7 separate regions of the Homo sapiens genome follow, and regions 1, 3, 4, 5, 6 and 7 are each linked to region 2. Evidence: promoter capture Hi-C in 16 types of primary human blood cells and fetal thymus (Javierre and others, 2016). All regions are on one chromosome and are shown on one strand. Each heading gives the region's core, a stretch centred on a gene start or on the middle of the fragment in contact. The rest is flanking DNA. Distances are from core to core; before and after follow the strand shown.

Region 1 (2,777 bases), core at 266-2,765, 620 kb before region 2:
AGAATGTTGCACAAGAGATTCCTGGCTGGCTAAGTAAAGCATTCACTAGATGGACTCTAAAGTCTCACAGTTCTAAGATTCCCAATCTATGAGTAGACGTGAAAAATAAGAAAACATTTTGCCTTTCAATTAACCCATTGGCTTTCACTCCCACCCTAGCTGGGCACACACATACTCAAAAGTTATTTCTCCCCTTTCTCTGCAGTGATTTCACGAGATCCTCGCGAACAAAAGGCACGGAAAACAGGCACAGGTGGAATAAAAAGGGGAGTGGCTGAGGCCAGGCGGCTCTCGGGACAGCGCCCCCACGCCCCCAGTTCTCCCGGCCGCACCTGAGAAATCACTGCCCTCCGCACCTGAGAAATCACTGCCCTCCACACCTCGACCCTTCCGCGCCGGCGCCAGGAGCAAATTCTCCGACCTATTACCCTCCGCCCGTACCTTGGCCAGACACTGGGCATTGTCTGGAGCCTCCTGTGCCAAAGAAAGGCAAGGAGGAAAGGAAAGGAGAGAACGAAGGAGAAAGAACAAGTGAGAATAAAGAACGGAAAGGGAAGTAAAGCAACAGGGAGACCGTACGCTCCTTTTGGTAAAATTAGCTTCCTCATCGATCACTCGATTTAATTCAGCCCCCAAAACCAACCCACCAGCCCAAAGGCTGCAGCCGGGGGTGGCCAAACCGGAGTCCCTCGAAGCTGTGCCCGCCCGAAGCACTGAGGCAGGGAGAGAGAAATGTGCGTGTGGGCTGGGCCTGGCTGGCCCGAGGCCGGGCTCCGAACAAAGCCGCCTGGGTCCCCATACCTGGGGCGAGGGCTCTGGGCGGCGCCGCCCCAGACGGGCGACGCCCTAGCCCCGCGGACCTGGCCCGGGCGAGGAATCGCGGCCGGTCCCCTCCCCGCCCTCGAACAGCGCCCCTTGGGGACAATGGGCCCCCTCCCCCGCCTCCGGGAGGAGAGATACAAAGGAAGAGAGGAGCCGCCGGGCGCGAAGCCAGGCGTCGGGAAAAGTGAAGGTGGAGGAGGGAGAAGGAACAAGAGGGGATCACGGCGCACGCAGGAGCCCGCGGGCTGCTCCCCCGGCCGTCCCGGGCGCCGCCCGAGCTGCACCACGGCGGCAAAGGCGGGAGCACGGACTAGCGGCCCCCTAGACCCCCGGCCGAGAAGGGAAGAGGAGTCTGCACACAAAGACGAGCGGGACCCTCACCCTCCGCCAGCGCCGGACCGAGGACGGCGGAGCGCGCTTTCACCGCCGAGGGTCCGCGGCGCCCGCCCAACCCGCGCTTCTCAGGGGCCGGGGTCCGTGCGGGGCGCCCCTCTCCCCGACTCACCCACAGCTCCGTGCCCCAGCTCATGGCGGAACTTTCTGGCCGTCTGGCGGTGCCGCTGTCCTTCAGTCTGTCGGCTCCACAGTCTGTCCGACCTCTCACTCGCTGGCCGGCGGGCTAGCAGCTCAGCGGGTCTACCTCGAAAGGTGCCGCCACCGCCGGGCTCCCCAGTGAGTGAGAAAGACGCGACTGGAGAAGCCTCCGCCGCCGACGCGTCCCCGCCTCCCCGCGCTGGGCGGGAGGGGGCCGGGGCCGAGGGGAGGCGGAACGCGGCGCGGGGAGGGGGCGGGGCGCAGTGCATCCTGGGATCGGGGAGGACCTGGGCTAGCCTGGCCACCGCCGGCGGGGTCCCCAAGCGGGCACCTGGTCACCCTCGCTGGCCCCTCTCGCTGGTCGAGTCTCCTCCTGCAGGTACCCCGGAGCTTGGACTGCCCCCACTCCGCTGCCAGTCGGACCCCTGTTTCCAAGATAGAAAGGGAGAGAAGGGAAAAGACCCCCACCGCCGCTATTATCTCATTCCTCCTCTGCGCTGAGCCCCTTTACATGAGGCAATTTTAGTTACCTGCCTTTCCTGCCTCTTGTCTCCTCCACTCGGGAGAAACCTTGACAGGGAAGCGTCATCCAAATCCTAGAGTTTAGACTGAGGAGAGTTGTGTTTTATTTTTTTAAATCTTGATGCTTAAGGTGATCTCTCCTTTCAAGCCTGATGCTTTGGCATGACGATTCTTGGGAACCACCAAAATGTGCACAGGTTGAACAGCAAATGTGAAGGCAACATGTCCCCGATTCTGTCTTTAATTAAATATTTTAATTTTATAAATTCTGTCAGGAAATTATAAAAAGAGGCAGCTCTTCCAGTAATCATTTAGGTATGTTGCCAGCGCACGAGATGGAAGACGTGGACAAATGTGAGCCGAGCTGTCACCTGCGGAAGATGAGAAGGCAGCTTGCCCCATGTCTGGAATGGGCACCTCGTGGGTGAGGGTTGGATGGGAGCCAGATTTTTCTCTGGTAGTGTAAACAGCTTATTCGGAACTTCAGATCTCTTTCACCTCCCAGTATCGGAACCTTGGAGGCAGGTCCACTACTTCCTTTTTTCTCTATGGAGCTACTTCCTGGCCTATCTCCATGGAAAGGCTGTTAGCTAGTTTGGCTGGTGCTACTAGATATCAAGTACGCTGAGCAACTCCCTAACATATGCTTTAGTATTAATAGCTTGTCTCCTAAAGCAAGCAAGCGCACACACACACACTTCAAAACAGTCAACTAGTAGAGTACTCCTCAGTGCGTCATGACAGCTGGGTGTTTTAGGAAGCTCTCCCAACGGGTTCTTTGTCAGCATTGAAACTCCTCCCCTACCTGGCCTGGACAGGTGTTCCAACCTCTTCCGCTTAATCCGTATTCTTTTGCCTAGCTGCGCTCCCTCTTGGAGTTGAGGCCAACAGCCTGAGTT
Region 2 (2,700 bases), core at 1-2,500:
GTAAACAGACAACTGTCACTTGTAGAATCCCAGGTTTCACAAGCAACTAGGGTCAAGAATCTTTTTCCTCTACCTTCCATGTCACAGACTAGTAGTTTCATAAAACAATAAAAATGAATCCTTAGAGAAATATGGAATAAAAGAAACATACAAAATGCAGGCCCCAATTTATTACATTTAACAGGTATAAAATTATTGTTATATTGCTTTCAAAAGGTTTTAAACGCTTTCAATTTCCATATTTGTTTCTTCAAGGACCAGCACCGGTAATTGTGCCAAACTTTTGCGAAGCACTGCTCCAGACAGCAATCAGTGATGCCAAACGTCGGTTTGTTCGGAACACGCTATGTCCCACTTCGAAAACCTAGCCTCAAATAACAACTACGTACCTCTCTCGCTTCCCATGTTATGTTTTTCAAAAGCCTAAATTACCTGCCACAAAGCTTAACTGGGCAAGAGCACATTCAGCAGTAATTCCCCCACTAAAACAGCACTGTTCCCCATCAGCTAAAGCAACATTTCATCCCACCCTTGGGGCCCTACCCCAATAATTAAAAACTCATCCGGCGACGGACTCTAGAGGAAGAGGCAGGAGGCACGTATTCCATGTTAAAGGAGCTTCCGGGGCCCAGGGACCCCTCGGCCTCCAAGCTCCACTGACAATTTTGGCTTAAAAGCCACTTGCTCAGCCCACGGGCACAAGCTTCCTAAATCTAAGACTTGCCGGCTCCGACATTCTCCTGGAAAACCCACGAAGTACTCGGTACTCGGAGGTCGAGTGGGACCCGAGGACCTGCAGCCCCCCTCCATTCTGGCGTTCCCCAGCTAGGCTGAGGTCGACTGCTTGCGACCTCTCACGCCCGGCCGCTTGCCAGCGCCCCCTCACACTAGACGGCAGTATCCGCACTCAGGCTGTCTACTAAACTCACCCTTCTCCCCAATCCGCCGTCCAAGCTCACGCAACCCTTCTTCGCCAACCCCTCCCCCCAAGTTCGCGCACCGGGCGGCAGCCATTTAAGGCCACGCTGGGAACTGCACCTCGACCAAGTCAGAGCTAGCAATCTAACGCCATCCGGCCCCTGCGACGCGCGAGACGGGCCCTAGGCTGGCATACGGGCAAGAAAAGGGAACCTCCATGCATCTAAAGCCCCGAGACCGAGGCATCCACTCACCATCCTGCGGAACAGAGACCGGCGTCCGCTGCTCGACAGAGACCTGCAGGCCCAGCGGCGCTAGGGGGTGGGAAAAGGGCCACAGCCCTTGCGCAGGCGCAGTATGTAGCGCGGACGGTCACGCCAGTGACGTGTGAAAGAGAGAGGGCGTCGGCCACAAGGCGTTTTACGTTCCGCCCCCTGCTGGAAGGAGGGTGAATGCCTGCCCAAGCTCTCCAGGTTCCAATGCTCGGGGTATCTCACAGGATCCGTGCGGTGAGGAGGAGCAGGGAGGATTACTGGAGCCTTTCGCTTTCTTTGCTACAGCGTTTTGTTTTGTTTTGTTTTGTTTTGTTTTGTTTTGTTTTGTTTTGTTTTGTTCATAACGCATTTTGCTTTTCTAAGCAGGAAAAAAAAAAAAAATTAAATAGGACAAGTTTGCTTGGGAGCCCTCTTGCCTTCTCTGGGCTACTCATTCTGGTCCAAGAGCATATGGACCCACCCTCCCATCTCACCCCCAGGAAGCCTTCCCTGAGAGCCCCAAGCCTGGGATAGGGGCCACTCCTCTGCCTTCCTACAGCAGCTTTCTACTGGCTTCAGCCCACCACAGACTGTCAACTTTTCGAGGTGGGCCCTGATGTCCACCTCTGACTCTCCAGCACCTAGCAGGGTATCAGCTGCTCACCGTTAGAGCTGGGAGAAGGGACGGCCAACCAGGATGACAGGGTTAAGTGACTCCAAAACACTGCCACTAGAATAAATCAGGATTAGGATGCCAATTACTTCTGATTCCAACTTGTAATTCCTTATATAATAGGAAAAATAAACAGAGTTCGCTATGGCCGATGTCAACAGAGCTCTAGAGGAGAAAACTTAAAACACTTTTCACAGGAAGTGTGATTCTACTTTTGTGGAGCCACCTTTGAAAGGGTAAAGAAAGAGGTATTCAATTCGTATTTATAGAAAATATTTAAAAACCTTCATTTTGGTGGATTATCAAGTTATTAGCCTACCAAAGGTGCTCCATGTCTTGGTCAGGCCCTGCTTACACTGGAGGCAAAAGCATCAGGAAGGAAAGTCTGCCTGGAAACAGGCCGACTCCTAACTTCTGCATGTTTTAGGGCAAGGGTTCATAGGAAGACCCACATACTATTCATCTGAATATTTAGAAGTTGTGGGCCGGGCACGGTAGCTCAGGCCAGGTGCGGTGGGTCACGCCTGTAATCCCAGCGCTTTGGGAGGCCGAGGCAGGCGGATCGCGAGGTCAAGAGATCGAGACCATCCTGGACAACATGGTGAAACCCCATCTCTGCTAAAAATACAAAAACCAGCCGGGCATGGTGGCACGCACCTGTAGTCCCAGCTACTCGGGAGACTGAGACAGGAGAATCGCTTGAACCCAGGAGGCAGAGGTTGCAGTGAGCCGAGATCACACCACTGCACTCCAGCCTGGCGACAGTGAGACTCCGTCTCAAAAAAAAAAAAAAAGAAAGAAGTCATGAAGCAGGCTGGATGTGCTGGCTCAGGCCTGTAATCCCAGCATTTTGGG
Region 3 (2,952 bases), core at 385-2,884, 540 kb after region 2:
GGCCGTGTTGCCCAGGCTGGTCTTGAACTCCTGAGCTCAAGTGATCCACCCACCTCAGCCTCCCAAAGTGTTGGGATTACAGGCATGAGCCACCATGCTTAAAAAAAAAAAAAAAAAGAAAAGAAAAGACGGGGTGCGGTGGCTCACGCCTGTAATCCCAGCACTTTGGGAGGCTGAGGTGGGCGGATCACGAGGTCAGGAGATCGAGACCATCCTGGCTAACATGGTGAAACCCCATCTCTACTAAAAAAAAAAAAAAAAAAGGCAAAAAATTAGCCAGGCATGGTGGCGGGTGCCTGTAGCCCCAGCTACTTGGGGGGCTGAGACAGGAGAATGACATGAACCCAGGAAGCAGAGCTTGCAGTGAGCTGGGACAGCGCCACTGCACTCCAGCCTGGGCGACAGAGCGAGACTCAGTTTCAAAATAAATAAATAAATAAGAATGTATTTAACTTTAAAAAACAGAGACAGGGTCTCACTAGGTTGCCCAGGCTGGTCTCAAACTCCTGGGCTCAAGTGATCCTCCTGCCTCAGCCTCCTAAGGTGCTGGGATTAGAGACATGAGCCACTGCACCCAGCCAACCACCGTGCTTTTAAAGAAGGACTCTAGGAGGGTAGTGATCTTATCCAGTGTGTTCCTCACTTTATTTCTAACCTCTAGAATATTATAGTGTAGGCTTGGTAAATACTGATGAGTTAAAATACAAAGCAGGCCAGAGAAGTGGAATACATTGTTGATCCTTTGAGAATTAGTGGTTTTGATAATGAATGTGAATTAGTCATTATAAAGATAAACTTTTACTTGTATGGTAAGCATTCTGAAATATCTTTGAACATAGAAGCCACTTGTATGTAGGAGAGAAAATTAATGAAGTTGTATCCCTTCTTTTTTTTATAAATTACAAGGATTATATTTAGAGACTCCAAGAACTTTAAAAGGTACATGAGCATTGGCTGGATTTCTTTATGAATAAGGGGAGCAAAATTGTCTGTGGAAGTTAAGTACCTGTATTAAGCAAATTAACTCTTTTGTTGGAAATAGAGGCACTATTTAAATCTTGGGAAACACCAACTTGCCTGATAAAAAGTAAAGACCCTTTTGCCTTTCCTCAGGGAACATATTAAAAACTATTTAAAAATGTTGATGTCTGTTAGTAGCCAACCCTGGAAAGTCTCTGGTGAAATGTCATAGGCTTCACTTGTCTCATCTTCCTATTTCAGAAACAATTCTGAGCTCTTCCAAGATAGGAAAGCACACTGCGAGAGTCCTATAGATGGCAGTGTTTGCTTTACTCTGAAAATGTTTTTACAGGTCATCATCAAGAATATGGGCTGGAATCTCGTTGGTCCTGTTGTTCGATGCCTTTTGTGTAAAGATAAAGAGGATAGTAAAAGAAAAGTTTATTTTTTGATCTTTGATTTATTGGTAAAGGTAAGTTAACAAAACAAGGTTCTCTTTATCATAACACACAGCAGTATTTTATAATTCCCTTTAATGTTTATTGTTTGGTAAGAAAGCTTTTGGTTCATGAAAGTACATGCAGAAAGGAACTCGTTGGAGAAAAGACCCAGTCTTATTGATTGGATAGGCAATTCCATTTCAGGATTTCCCAAATTTTCTGGATAAAAGAATTGTCTAACCTCATATTAACCTCATATCGGACCCATTGATTCAGCATCTCCAGGGAGAGACCTGGGAAGCTATATCTTAACAAGTAGCCTTATCGTATAGATGTGGAATACAAGCTTTAGAGAGGTAGTTCAAGGTCACATTTATCTTTTGGCAACATTGGAACTAGATTAAAATCTCAGTCCTCTTTCCTTTGTGGTATGTTCCCTAAAAGAAAATGGAAGGCCTAGAATACAAGTGATTAAAATTGAAGTAGGAATAGGGTAGAATACAGATCAGTTGTGACTAACAACCTTAGAAAGCGACCCTGGGTAAAAGGCTAGTAGAGTTTACAGTCAATATTTGATGGCCAAGAAAGATAAATTCTGAGAAAAAGTATATTATAAGAAACTGTTTAGTGATCAGTGCAAATATACCCAAATATATATTGGAAGGAGAGCTCCATCTGTATGAGTTATTGACTATGGGAGCTGGGAGCTTTTAAAAAACCAGTCAAGTGAGATGATAAGATATGGCCAGTCAGAAAGCAATGCAAAGTTTTACCTGTTCAAAAAATACAAAAGAGATTCCAGACTAGTCTAAATAGGCTTGCAGCATGGGATTGAAAGGTCCCACCTGCTGGAGCCCCTGAGAATCTGTTAAGGCAATTTCAGAGTGGACAGGTGAAGCTCAAAGGAAACCTGAGCCTAAAGATCCATTGACTTCTTGCTTTTTAGTTTTATAGTTACTTGACCATCACAGATTCTGTGTTTTGCTCATGCATATTTTTTCAACAATTGTATAAATAATTTTAATGTTAAGCAAAAACATAATTGTATAATATTTTGTCGATACATGCCTTCTTAAAAATAGTAATAATGTGGCTTTAAATACAACTTGTATTAAACAGGTTCAATTGTGAATATTTTTATAGTTATGCAATCCAAAGGAATTATTGTTGGGTTTGCTTGAACTGATTGAAGAGCCCTCTGGAAAACAGATATCCCAAAGTATTCTTCTTTTGCTTCAGCCATTACAAACAGGTAATGAGAATTTTGATATCAGAGTACTTCTTGTTGTATCTCTAAATGCCTTGATGGTTACCTCAAAATGTCAATACTACACCAAAGTAAAGTTTACAGCTAATTAGTGAGTACTCTGCTTAAACCAATAATAGCAATGCCAATGTGAATACTGCTGCTCATAGAAAGATTATAGTATCTGGCCAGAGTGGGTACCCAGTAAATATTCTGTTGAATGTCATACTATTTTTCATGTGCTATATTGAAAACTATACCTTTTTGCCTAACCTTCCTATCTGCTGCTTAAATCTAGAATTTTCT
Region 4 (2,700 bases), core at 68-2,567, 520 kb after region 2:
CTTTGTAGAGATGGGTCCCTCTATGTTGCCCAGGCTGGTCTCAAATGTCTTGTTTAAGTGATCCTCCTGCCTTGCCCCGCAACAATGCTGGGATTACAGGCATAAGTCACTGCTCCTGGCCGGACTCCAATTTTGAAAGATGTTCTGCTGTGGGTAAAATGCTATCAAACAGCATCTAATGCTACAGAGAAATCTTTAGTGAAAGGAAGTCGATCAGTGCAGCAAACCTGGGGTTGTCTTATTTCAACAAATTACCACAGCCATCCCAACCTATAGACACCACCACCCTGATCAGTTAGCAGCCATCCACATCAAAACAGGACCCTTCACCAGCAAAAAGATTAATACTTGCTGAAGGCTCAGATGATCAGTAGCATCTTTAAGCAATAAAATATTTTAAAATTAAGGTATGTACATTATTTTTTAAAGATATAACGCTACTGCACATTTAAAAGACTACAGTATAGTGGAAACATAACTTTTGCATACACTGGGAAACAAAATCCATGATTGCTTTATTGCTTTAGTATAGTGGTGGTCTGGAACCAAACCTGCAATATCTCCAAGATATGCCTGTACTTACTGGCTTTCACAATAATGTAAGAAAGACCAAATTAGGTCAAATTCAATATTCTGTTTCCAAATGGTGTGTAAGGTCATGGCATCCTCAGTGATGCCAAGTTCAAATTGTTCAGGACATGCTCTAAAACATGCCTGGTTTTTCTTCATAATTTAAAAGCTTTGATCTACATTTTATCAGCCTTCACTTTTACAGACTAAAGAGATCAAATTATTAAAGTCAGTAACTTTATTCAAAATTATTGAGACAGACCTTTCTACAAGGTAGTATAAGTTTCTCTAGTCTTAAGCAGATAATTTTAATTTTCATCATTTTAATAAATATTTCCTTATGTAGAAAACTTTCTCTATAGTAGCAATGACTAATGACACAATTGGCTTAGAACTGTAAATCATTAGAACCAAAGGGAACTCGGAAGTTGAATGCAACTTTTTCCTTTTACAAATGAGGAAACTGAGACTTAGTGTTGAGAAGCAGGTTTCCTACAGTAAAACAACCAAAAACGTGAGCTAAATCCAACAAAACAGCGCTCTTCAAACTGCAGATCAGGACCAATCAATTAAGTAGGTTGCTGCCAGCATTTTAAAAAAGCAACAGAGTAGAAAATATCAGAGGCATTTCATGTAGTAAGAATAATATTGTTTCACAGAAGTTTTGCTTTAGTTTTAGTTATATGCATATATGAGATAATGTAAAATGCACTTATTATAGTGGTCGAAAGTTTGGAAGTCATTTCAATAAGATATCTAATCTTTTGGGTGGATTTAACAATTTATTCTTAGTCTCGTTCTGTTGCCCAGGCTGGAGCGCAATGGTGTGATCTCGGCTCACTGCAACCTCTGCCTCCCAGGTTCAAGCGGTTCTTCTTACTCAGCCTCCCAAGTAGCTGGGGCTACAGGCATGTTCCAGCACTCCTGGCTAATTTTTATATTTTTAGTAGAGATAGGGTTTTGTCATGTTGGCCAGGCTGATCTTGAACTCCTGACCTCAGGTGATCCACCAGTCTCGGCCTCCCAAATGCTGGGATTACGGGCGTGAGTCACCACACCTGGCCATAAAAATTTATTATTATTTTAAAATTATGATTATTAAAATTACTATTATGATGCAATTTATTCTTTATCATGACTCATTGTAAGCTAATAAAAATATCTCTGCATTAAATACTACATGCCACCATTTAAAAGAAGCAATTTTTTCCTCCCTAAAGGAAGACTGACTCAGGATATTGTATCCCATGCCATATGTAAACAGACATTCTTTAAAATATCACATTTCTGTAGAGCTTAAATGTGCAATAGCTAGACAAGCTTTTAAAAATACAAAATTCTAGAATTCTGATCCTTGGCACAGGTAAAAAGATGTCTGAAAAAACAGTGACCTCTAGTGGATTCATTAAATAGCATGGACATAATCCCTGCCCCTAAGAATTTGGAAATTAAGGTAACACAAATGCATCCAGATATAAAAGATACTGATATGGTTATACACTGACAAGTGTTATATATAATTAAGGGCTACAGTTATGCTATACAATGAGGCAGATGCATATATATAGATTATTCACTGTTTCCTTCTAATCAAGTGGAATATAATAAATAGAATCCTGGTCTCATACGGATCACTAGTTTAAGAAATACACTTAATGAAGGGGTTGGATTAAATCTCTCTAAGGACCCTTTTAGCTCTTTTAATTATGATTCTTCTTTAATTCATTTTGTACACCAATATCAGAATAAATTCTGCTCAAAAACATTTGATGGCTCCCCAATACTTGAGGGTTTACCACACTCAGCCTGGCCCTTTGTTATTTACCTATTGTTATCTTCTCGTTTCCCAAATTTCAAGTGGGCCAATGTTCAATATCCCAACCCATTCCCACAAGTTTATTTTCTCACTTTTGCTCACAGTTTCTCATTATGCAATGTCCTAACCTTGCTAATTTATAGGACAGGTCCCCATTAAAGTCAACACAAACTTGTTTAATTCATGTTCTGGCATCCAGTGATTGTTAAATTCACAGGTTGGGTTTTATACTTGTATATGTGTATGTGTATGTGTATGTGTATGTGTATGTGTATGTGTATGTATATGTATATGTGTATGTGTATGTGTATGTG
Region 5 (2,752 bases), core at 143-2,642, 750 kb after region 2:
CCGGGCGTGGTGGCGCGTGCCTGTAATCCCAGCTACTCGGGAGGTTGAGGCAGGAGAATGGCTTGAACCCGGGAGGTGGAGGTTGCAGTGAGCCGAGATCGCGCCACGGCGCTCCAGCCTGGGCGACAGAGCGAGACTCCGTCTCCAAAAAAAAAAAAGTAGAATGCTGCACAACTTTTAATTATTAGTAATTATGTTTACCTCAGTGGTTCTCATAGTCACCCTAGCCAGCAGCATTAGCATCACTTGGGGCCTTGTTAGAAATGGAAAATTTCAGTGATGCCCACCCAAGTTTAAGAATCAATGTCTTGCTGGAAATGTAAATTAGCTAGGTCATATTTCTAAGCTTCAATTTCTTTGTAAGCTGAAATTACTTTAGCTGGATTCCCAATAACCCGAGAAGGATATCCATGAGGCTTACAAAGGTTAAATGTCAGGAAGACCCTCCATTTGCTTTGGTCCTCACAGGAGCTGAGAGTTGCTGGGAGCTACAGAGAGCTCTAGGTGGAGAGAGGAATCCAGGTCGCAATCAGGAAGCATTTCTGGTAAATTGTTTAAAGAGACCTCAGAAGAGACCTCCAAGACTATAGTATTGTTCTTTCCTCATTTCAAATAATCGTTTTCCTAATTTTATTATTTTTCTTAAAATAGTATAAGCTTATTTTAAAAATTGTGTAAGTTTCAGGACCTGGATCCACCCGACCTTAGTGATTGGAAACAACTAAGCGTGCCTGTGTTGAGATATTTCTAGCAAACTAGTGCTGCACACGACTAAGCTTTTTTTGTTTTCCTTTTGAATCTGGTACATGGTGTCGAGGTGCTCGGGATTGTTTATTCAGGGCGAGCGAAGCCACTTTTCGGAATAGTGGGGAGACTGGCTAACGACCCGCAGTCGCCTGAGGCGAGGAGAACCAAGTGCTGAGGGAGGGGGAGGCAGAGCCGAAAGAAGCCTCAGCTTCGGGGCGGAGGTGGGCGATTTAGGAACTGAAGCAGCCAGAGTTCCCGCCTCCTCCTACCTGAGCAAATCCTGGCTGAGCTGCTCCGACACCGTCGCCTTCAGCCGGCGCCGCTCACACGGCCCCTTCCTTTGCAACCCCTTACTGCAAACTCCAGCGGACCCCAGAAGTACCATGGGGGCCGCACTGCCTTCCCCACAGCGAGCCATGTCTCACAGAGGTACGACGCCCTGGAGGCCCAGTACTTGGCCTCACTTGCCCCGCCCAGGAGGAAGAAGGGGGCGTTTCCGACCGAACGCTCGGCTCCTACCCAAATCCGCCCCCTAGGGTAAAAGGTTGACGCCTCTCGTCGGTTTGTAGACAGTCTCCCAGAGAAGCCGGACCGCGGTGGGGAGCCTCAGAATCCCAGAACCGAGCCGGCTCTTGACCCAGGAAGAGCGTGCGCAGGCGTACTCGCTCTGTTTACTTCTGCCGGCGGGCACCCCGCCTCCCATGGCTCAGGCGCGGACCATCCCGCGGGGCAAACCAATCCTCAGGCTCCTTATCCCCTCCCCTCTTCTTTCCCTTCCGGTTGGTGTTCATTCATTTCAATGTTTTACTGAGGCTCGAGTTCAAATCAGCACATGCAGCCTTTCTATGCTGTGTCTTCCTGACAGGTCTACACTTTTTTCCAACGAAAGACTGGGCGAGTCACACCCCCTCACTTACCTGGCTTCTTAACCCTGAGGTATAAATGTTTGGGGCAAGAAAAATTGGCGATGGGAGGAGTAGGGGAAGAACTTCATAAACTGCCAGTCAGAACAATTCTGAGTTCAATATAAGAGATACTTACAGCATCTAGAAGGCCCCATCCCCTTCTTATCCAAGGAGTGGCTCATACAAGCTTTTGGACTTGATCGGAGAAAGCACAGGGCTTTGCATATAAAGCCCTAACATTTATGACCAAGAAGGGAGAAATAGGTAAGGGGCAAAGTCTTTGAGCAGTGAAGTGATGGATGGATGAAATATAGAATTCTCTTTTGTCCCAAATAAAGTAGCAAACTGATTATCATTTAAGGTTTTGGTATTTTTTATTTGATTACTGCCTCCAAAATAAGGAAACTCAGTAGTTCCGCTTCGGGCCGGGCAAGTCCCATCTACTTGGGAAGCGAGGCGGAATGATGGCTTGAGCCCGGGAGGTCGAGGCTGCAGTGAGCCATGATTGCACCACTGCACTCCAGCCTGAACAGCACAGCAAGACCCTGTCTCAAAAAAAAAAAAAAAAAAAAAAATCTGTTTCATTCACAAACTCTACACACAAGGTGAAGAATAGTAATTGCTTGGAAAATACATTGGCCAGGTTGCGGTGGCTCACACCTGTAATCCCAGCACTTTGGGAAGCCAAGGCGGGAGGATCACTTGAGCCCAGGAATTAGAGACCAGCCTGGGCAACATAAGGAGACCCTGTCTCTACCAAACAAAAAAAAAAAAAAAGGAGGCGGGGAGGGGAATATATGGACTTTGTATTTGTACCATAAGATTGGCCAAGAGGTAACCATTTCTTCAGATAATGCCCCCTCTCAAATATTCAGACATCTTAATTCTGAAAAATATAACTGGATAATTGATTTTTTAAAATTAATTCCCAAATGCTTGGATGGATAATTGATTCTTAATTATTCCTGTAGAAACGAGGGGTGTCAAAGATAACATAATAGTAGCTTATATTTGAATCCTTATTATGTGATAAACGCTACTCTATTTGCTCTGTGTGTTTTAACTCAGTTAATCCTTACAACAACCATTTAGCTAGGTAC
Region 6 (2,779 bases), core at 167-2,666, 830 kb after region 2:
TGCTGATAAAACCCAGTTATCACTAAACATTTACTGAGCACATACTATGTACTAAGCACTGGGAACGTAAGGATGACTAAAATGTAATAACTATCCTCAGGTATTACGCGCCCAGCCTAGAGGTGGGTTTTAATAAGGCCAAGCCAATCCTGGTAATTCTATCTCACCATCAGTAACTCATTTAGGAAGAGCAGACCTAAGCCAGTGCAGGGCTTCCAAGGGAAAGATGCTGCCTGGGTGGCCAATTGGAGACAAAAAAACACAGAGAGGGAAACTAAGATACCAGACACTCAAAATAGCTACCAAGGGAACAGGGATGTGAAACGCAGTAAGTCTGACTCTGAGGTGAGGAGAACAAACTATGCAATTTCATTAATTCTTAAGTTTTCATGCAAATATTTCATTTATTATTATTGTGAAGATTAACTACAGAGTGTGAGCCCTTATCAAGCCATGACTAAAAGATTGACCTATCTTTGGACTATTGCTTATGTATGCCAACAAAATTCCTTTATTAAATCAGTTTGGGCTGAGTTTTCTGTCATCTGCAACATGGAACATCCTGATGCGTGAAACTTAATTGATCACTTGATTCAATTCTCTCTAGTCATAGTCTACAGGTTCTAATTCGTGGCTGAAGAACAAGAGGGACAAATCAAAACTGAGCTGCTGTCTTTGTTAACTAACCCAAACTAACAAAATCCTGGCCACTTACATATTATAGGGACTTACATTTAAGCTTCTACCATCCATCAATCCCTTGACTGATTCTCTGGCTAAATCATACTGAGGTTGAGGTTAGAAGAAGAGAGCAAGGAACATCAAGGAATAGCAGTGAGCATAGGAGGGCAAGACAAAACACTGTCAAAGAATGCAGAACAAAAGCTCACATTTTTAATTTGTACGTCTGTACACAGCCTCAATGTAGCCATGTTTCCTCACTTCAACAAGGAAAGGGAAAAAATAGTGAGAAAAGCTGTAAGTATAGGACTGCCTTCCCTTCTCTGCTTCCTGTCAGTGATTATTTAGGAAGGAGAAAAAGTATGTATGGTAAGTGAAATTCTAAAGTGACCCTTAATTTGCTGACTCTAAGTTGGTAAGTGGTGATAGTGCCATTATTGACAATTAAAGAGGAAGGATTAAAATCTGGGGACCAGACTGGGTGCACTGGCTCAGGCCTGCAATCCCAGCACTTTGGGAGGCCAAGGCGGGAGGATTCCTTAAGCCCAGAAGTTTGAGACCAGCCATGGTGAGATCCCATCTCTACCAAACAAAACAAACAAATAACAACTTAGCTGGGCATGGTGGCACACATTTGTGGTCCCAGCTACTTGAGAGGCTGAGGTAGGAGGATGACTTGAGCCCAGGCGGTTGAGGCTGCAGTGAGCCATATTTGCGCCACTGTACTCCAGCCTGAGCAACACAGGCAGACTGTCTCAAAAAAATAAATACAATCTGAGGACTAAAAGGGGGAATTCAGTTTTTACATGGCTGTGTTTGGAATGCCTATGTGATGTTTAAGTAAAGACATTTAGTAGAGTTGTATAAACATGCCTGGGGCCTGGATACATTTGAATTGTAAAAATGAGACTAGAAGTCATGGATGCCAAAGATCACCCAAGTATAGAGCACTGCTTCCAACCTTTTCCATGTCATGATATATAGAAAATGATCAATGTATGGCCACCTGCATAAATGGAAAGGCTGCTCCCAGCTCATTGCTATAAGAGCTGAGGGGACATTCATTCAGTAAGACTGTGCTTTGAAACATGGTTGGGAAATTCTGGGGTAGATGAAAAAAACAGAGAGGCTTAAGGATGCAATTCAGAGAATTATCAACATCTAAAGGGAGGCAAATAAAGAGATATCTGTAAGGAACAGACAGATGGGATTGTTAAGAGAGGTGTCATAAAAGCCTAGGAAGTATGTCAAGGGTCCAACTCTCTGAAAAATATTTTTACATGAATGACCCTGTGATACCTCAAAAGACTACAAAACTCATCTTTCCTCAGAAGCCTATTCTTCATCTTGTGTCCCGGGTCTGTCAACCTGGACAGTATCCAGCCAGTATCCTGTGAGCCACCGAAGCTTATATCCCTGGGTTATTAACCCAGCATGTTTTCATATTTTGCAGACCTGCCCATTCTACTCTTGCAATTTCTTTTAACTTTCCCCTTCTCTTTCCTTCTATCACTTTATGTCATTTTTTCCCTACTACTGCAACAGCCCAGCTGGTCTCCTTCCCTTCTCTGGTCTCTATATTCTCCTTTCCTTCAACTCACCTAAATAATATTGGCAAATTAATCACTCAGAGGCACACCTTCACTCAAAAAAACCTTCATTGCCTCCCCACTGACTATGCTATTATAATTAAGTCCAAAGTATCTAAAGGGTTAAATGATCTAAACCTGGTCTACCTTTGTAATTTTCCACATTCCTGTTTAATCCAACCAAATCTTTAATCACATGGAATTATGAGTTGCCTAAATACCTTCACATTCATGTTGCTTCCTCCATCCAAATGCCTTTCCATACTAAATAAACATAGGTAAGCCTTATTTTTTTTCTGCACTATCCAGCTCAAATGATACTCATTCTGTAAAATATGTATCTGCCAAACACATCAGGTGATTCTGCCTTCTTCACCTCCTTAAACTTCACTTTAGGTTCTTTCAGGGCACATTATTTTTACTTTATATACCAGTTGTTTATTTCTCCTATGAGATAGCAAACTCCTGGATTTACTTTTTCATTTGCAATTATGAATTCATGTTTATAT
Region 7 (2,700 bases), core at 177-2,676, 850 kb after region 2:
GCTGGGCGGATCACTTGAGCTCAGGAGTTCAAGGCCAACCTTGGAAACATGTTGAAACCCTATACATTTTTGTCAAAAAAAGTACAAAAATTAGCCCAGCGTGGTGGCACACACCTGTAGGCCCAGCTACTTGGCAGGCTGAGGCAGGAGGATGGCTTGAGCCCAGGAGGCAGAGGAGTGAGCCGTGATAGTGCCACTGCACTGTAGCCTGGGCGACAGAGCCAGACCCTGTCTCAAAAAAAATTTTTTTTAATTATTTTTTCATATTTATATTTTATTTTTCATATTCATATTTTCAGTCAATTTTTACTGATGTAGCAGATAAAGCTTTTGCTGATGTGCCTAATTTTCATAAATTAAATTTTCTTAGTAAATAGCCTCATTCTGCCCATGCTTGAAACTTTGACATAGAATTTGCCATCTGTTCCTTGAGAATGTTACTAGTATAATTAAGAATAGTAGGTGCTTTATTTTTATAGTAGATATTGCTAATGATATGATTTGACTTGCTTATTTTTCACAATTTTCAGGGCTTTTTTTTGTGTGTGTTGTTGTTCCCAGGGAAGTAAAAAATGTTCTTAGTTTACATGCTAGAAATTAAGAGCCTTTAAAATAACAGCTGCAACTGAAATTGATATTTAGAACATTAGAATATGTGGAGAAAGGCAAAAAAAAATTAGGACAAAAGGTCCAATTACTTCATTTAGTATTAAGCAAAGATATAATTTTTTCCCATTTGTCTTTGCATTTGCAATTTATAACATATATAAAGTGTTTTTCCAGTAAAGCACAGTTTGTTCATAAAACAATTAAAATTTCAAAAATAAACAACTAACATTATCAGAAGACAAATTGACCTTGTGTCACAAATTGTACACTATTTATAATGTAGGTTCAAATATAAAAACTTGCCACTTCAGGCTGGGCACAGTGGCTCACGCCACTTTGGGAGGCCAAGGAGGGAGAATTACTTGAGGTCAGGAGTTCAAGACCAGCCTGGACAACATGGTGAAACCCCATCTCTACTAAAAATACAAAAATGAGCTGGGTGTGGTGGCATCCACTTGTAATCCCAGCTACTTGGGAGACTGCGGTAGGAGGATCACTTGAACCCAGGAGGCGGAGGAGGCCACAATCACATCACTGCACTCCAGCCTGGGCGACAGAGTGAGAATCCGTCTCAAAAAAAAAAAACCAAAAAAACAAAAACTTGCTACTTTGATTTCAACATTATATATTTTAAAACTCCTTTTAATTGAAAAAGATGACATTAAACAAAAATGTCAGCCATAAAATAAAAATTCAACACAGCAATGTTTTAAGATTTGAATTCTAGGCCAGGCGTGGTGGCTAATGCCTGGCATCCCAGCACTTTGGGAGGCCGAGGTGGGTGGATCACAAGGTCAGGAGATCGAGACCATCCTGGCTAACACGGTGAAACCCCGTCTCTACTAAAAATACAAAAAATTAGCTGGGCGTGCCTGTAGTCCCAGCTACTTGGGAGGCTGAGGCAGGAGAACGGCGTGAACCCAGGAGGTGGAGCTTGCAGTGAGCTAAGATAGCGCCACTGCACTCCAGCCTGGGCAACAGAGGGAGACTCCGTCTCAAAAAAAAAAAAAAAAAAAGATTTGAATTCTGAGACTGAGTTATTCTGATAGAATGTTAGAAAAACAGAGAGTATATATTGCACTATTTTAAGAACACAAGTTAGTGATAAATATTCTTTCCTCCAAGCAATATATAATAATATTGTATCAGAAACTGATAATTCATATTAAAATTAAGGTACTTTATTGAAAACTCTGTATTATATTGTACTTTTCCTCTAACACTTGAAGCATTTATTATAATTAGATAATTCAAACTAACAGGAACAGTAAGACTTTTATCCTACAAATAAAAGACAAAGTGCTCTAACTTATTAGACCACAAATGCTTTATTAGATGAAGTTACAAATGCTAATTACAATTGAAAATACTAAATGCAACTTAAGTTATTCCAGTATTGTTCTATGCTTAGAAGTCAAATAAGGAAATACTATATAATCAGAGCCCTACATTTTTAAATTTTCTAGTATGACAAATCCCAAAGTAAAAATTCTGTTTATTCTCCAAAAATGTTTATCACTACATACTTTAGAAATGTAAAAACAAAATACAGCAATCAGCACCATATAAATGCAAACTAAACAGAACTAAGAGTTAAATAGAATGTATTGCAAGTCAGCAGACCATACTACCACACTGAAAAAAAGAGGGATGCTTTTAATAATGCTAAGAATTCCTGATGTCACAATATTCTGTGTGAGATGTTTCTTTAAAAAGAGAATTGAATTTCACAAGAAACACCTCATTTAAAATAAAGCAAAATTTAGGGACAACAGTGTCCAAATTCTGAATTTGCCTTTTGGTCAATAAAGATGGAACACCACTGCCAAGTCAGTATTCTTGGGGTAGTGATTACTTATCAACTGTGTAATCATTAATAGAAAAGCACAAAGAAAACATAAATGACCTAAGCTTGATACAACTGCTAAACTATACAAGATAATATGGCACTTGAGCATAGCTGAGAATCTGAATTTAAAGTACATTTTTCTATAGATGGAAGAAAATACTCTACAGTGAAGAAACCAAAGAAGTAGAAAAAAAAATCTGATTCACAGCTTCTGGGATGACTGGTTTAACTCAAAAGGATTA

What was found. Contacts are between HindIII fragments. The CHiCAGO score rates a contact against its expected background, and 5 or more counts as called.
Region 1: the fragment with the promoter of FNBP1L here is called in contact with the fragment with the promoter of RPL5 in region 2 in 2 of 17 cell types (total CD4 T cells and fetal thymus); the score reaches 9.3 in total CD4 T cells.
Region 3: a contact is called between a fragment that was not itself captured here and the fragment with the promoter of RPL5 in region 2, in 1 of 17 cell types (naive B cells). The highest score is 5.1, in naive B cells.
Region 4: a contact is called between a fragment that was not itself captured here and the fragment with the promoter of RPL5 in region 2, in 13 of 17 cell types (M2 macrophages, naive B cells, megakaryocytes and 10 more). The highest score is 19.7, in M2 macrophages.
Region 5: a contact is called between the fragment with the promoter of BTBD8 here and the fragment with the promoter of RPL5 in region 2, in 1 of 17 cell types (naive CD8 T cells). The highest score is 5.3, in naive CD8 T cells.
Region 6: a contact is called between a fragment that was not itself captured here and the fragment with the promoter of RPL5 in region 2, in 14 of 17 cell types (naive CD8 T cells, activated CD4 T cells, naive B cells and 11 more). The highest score is 18.4, in naive CD8 T cells.
Region 7: a fragment that was not itself captured here is called in contact with the fragment with the promoter of RPL5 in region 2 in 1 of 17 cell types (total CD4 T cells); the score reaches 5.5 in total CD4 T cells.

The regions. Positions count from the first base shown.
Region 1 is chr1:93,446,856-93,449,632 of GRCh38, reverse strand. It overlaps FNBP1L (formin binding protein 1 like), which reads right to left and starts at 1,515. Exons shown (of 17, transcript NM_001164473.3): 1 at 1,328-1,515. The coding sequence starts at 1,351. RefSeq lists silencers at 1,358-1,407, 2,347-2,641 and an enhancer at 888-1,866. The HindIII fragment of the contact is 14,675 bases long and covers 1-2,777 here.
Region 2 is chr1:92,830,590-92,833,289 of GRCh38, reverse strand. RPL5 (ribosomal protein L5) reads right to left here and starts at 1,250. Exons shown (of 8, transcript NM_000969.5): 1 at 1,173-1,250. The coding sequence starts at 1,175. It also overlaps a transcript of DIPK1A not described here. RefSeq lists enhancers at 172-809, 962-1,281, 810-1,448, 1,452-1,501. The HindIII fragment of the contact is 14,223 bases long and covers 706-2,700 here.
Region 3 is chr1:92,289,898-92,292,849 of GRCh38, reverse strand. GLMN (glomulin, FKBP associated protein) reads left to right here. Exons shown (of 19, transcript NM_053274.3): 4 at 1,313-1,432; 5 at 2,544-2,652. Among named protein-coding and RNA genes, the nearest start is that of GLMN, 7.6 kb to the left of the region's middle. The HindIII fragment of the contact is 228 bases long and covers 1,521-1,748 here.
Region 4 is chr1:92,309,550-92,312,249 of GRCh38, reverse strand. All of the region lies in intron 6 of RPAP2 (RNA polymerase II associated protein 2), which reads right to left. It also overlaps a transcript of GLMN not described here. Among named protein-coding and RNA genes, the nearest start is that of RPAP2, 12 kb to the right of the region's middle. The HindIII fragment of the contact is 1,151 bases long and covers 742-1,892 here.
Region 5 is chr1:92,078,985-92,081,736 of GRCh38, reverse strand. It overlaps BTBD8 (BTB domain containing 8), which reads right to left and starts at 1,392. Exons shown (of 18, transcript NM_001376131.1): 1 at 1,017-1,392. The coding sequence starts at 1,165. RefSeq lists an enhancer at 1-119. The HindIII fragment of the contact is 1,063 bases long and covers 779-1,841 here.
Region 6 is chr1:91,998,555-92,001,333 of GRCh38, reverse strand. All of the region lies in intron 15 of BRDT (bromodomain testis associated), which reads right to left. Among named protein-coding and RNA genes, the nearest start is that of EPHX4, 30 kb to the left of the region's middle. The HindIII fragment of the contact is 1,349 bases long and covers 742-2,090 here.
Region 7 is chr1:91,982,189-91,984,888 of GRCh38, reverse strand. All of the region lies in intron 12 of BRDT (bromodomain testis associated), which reads right to left. Among named protein-coding and RNA genes, the nearest start is that of BRDT, 34 kb to the right of the region's middle. The HindIII fragment of the contact is 2,193 bases long and covers 330-2,522 here.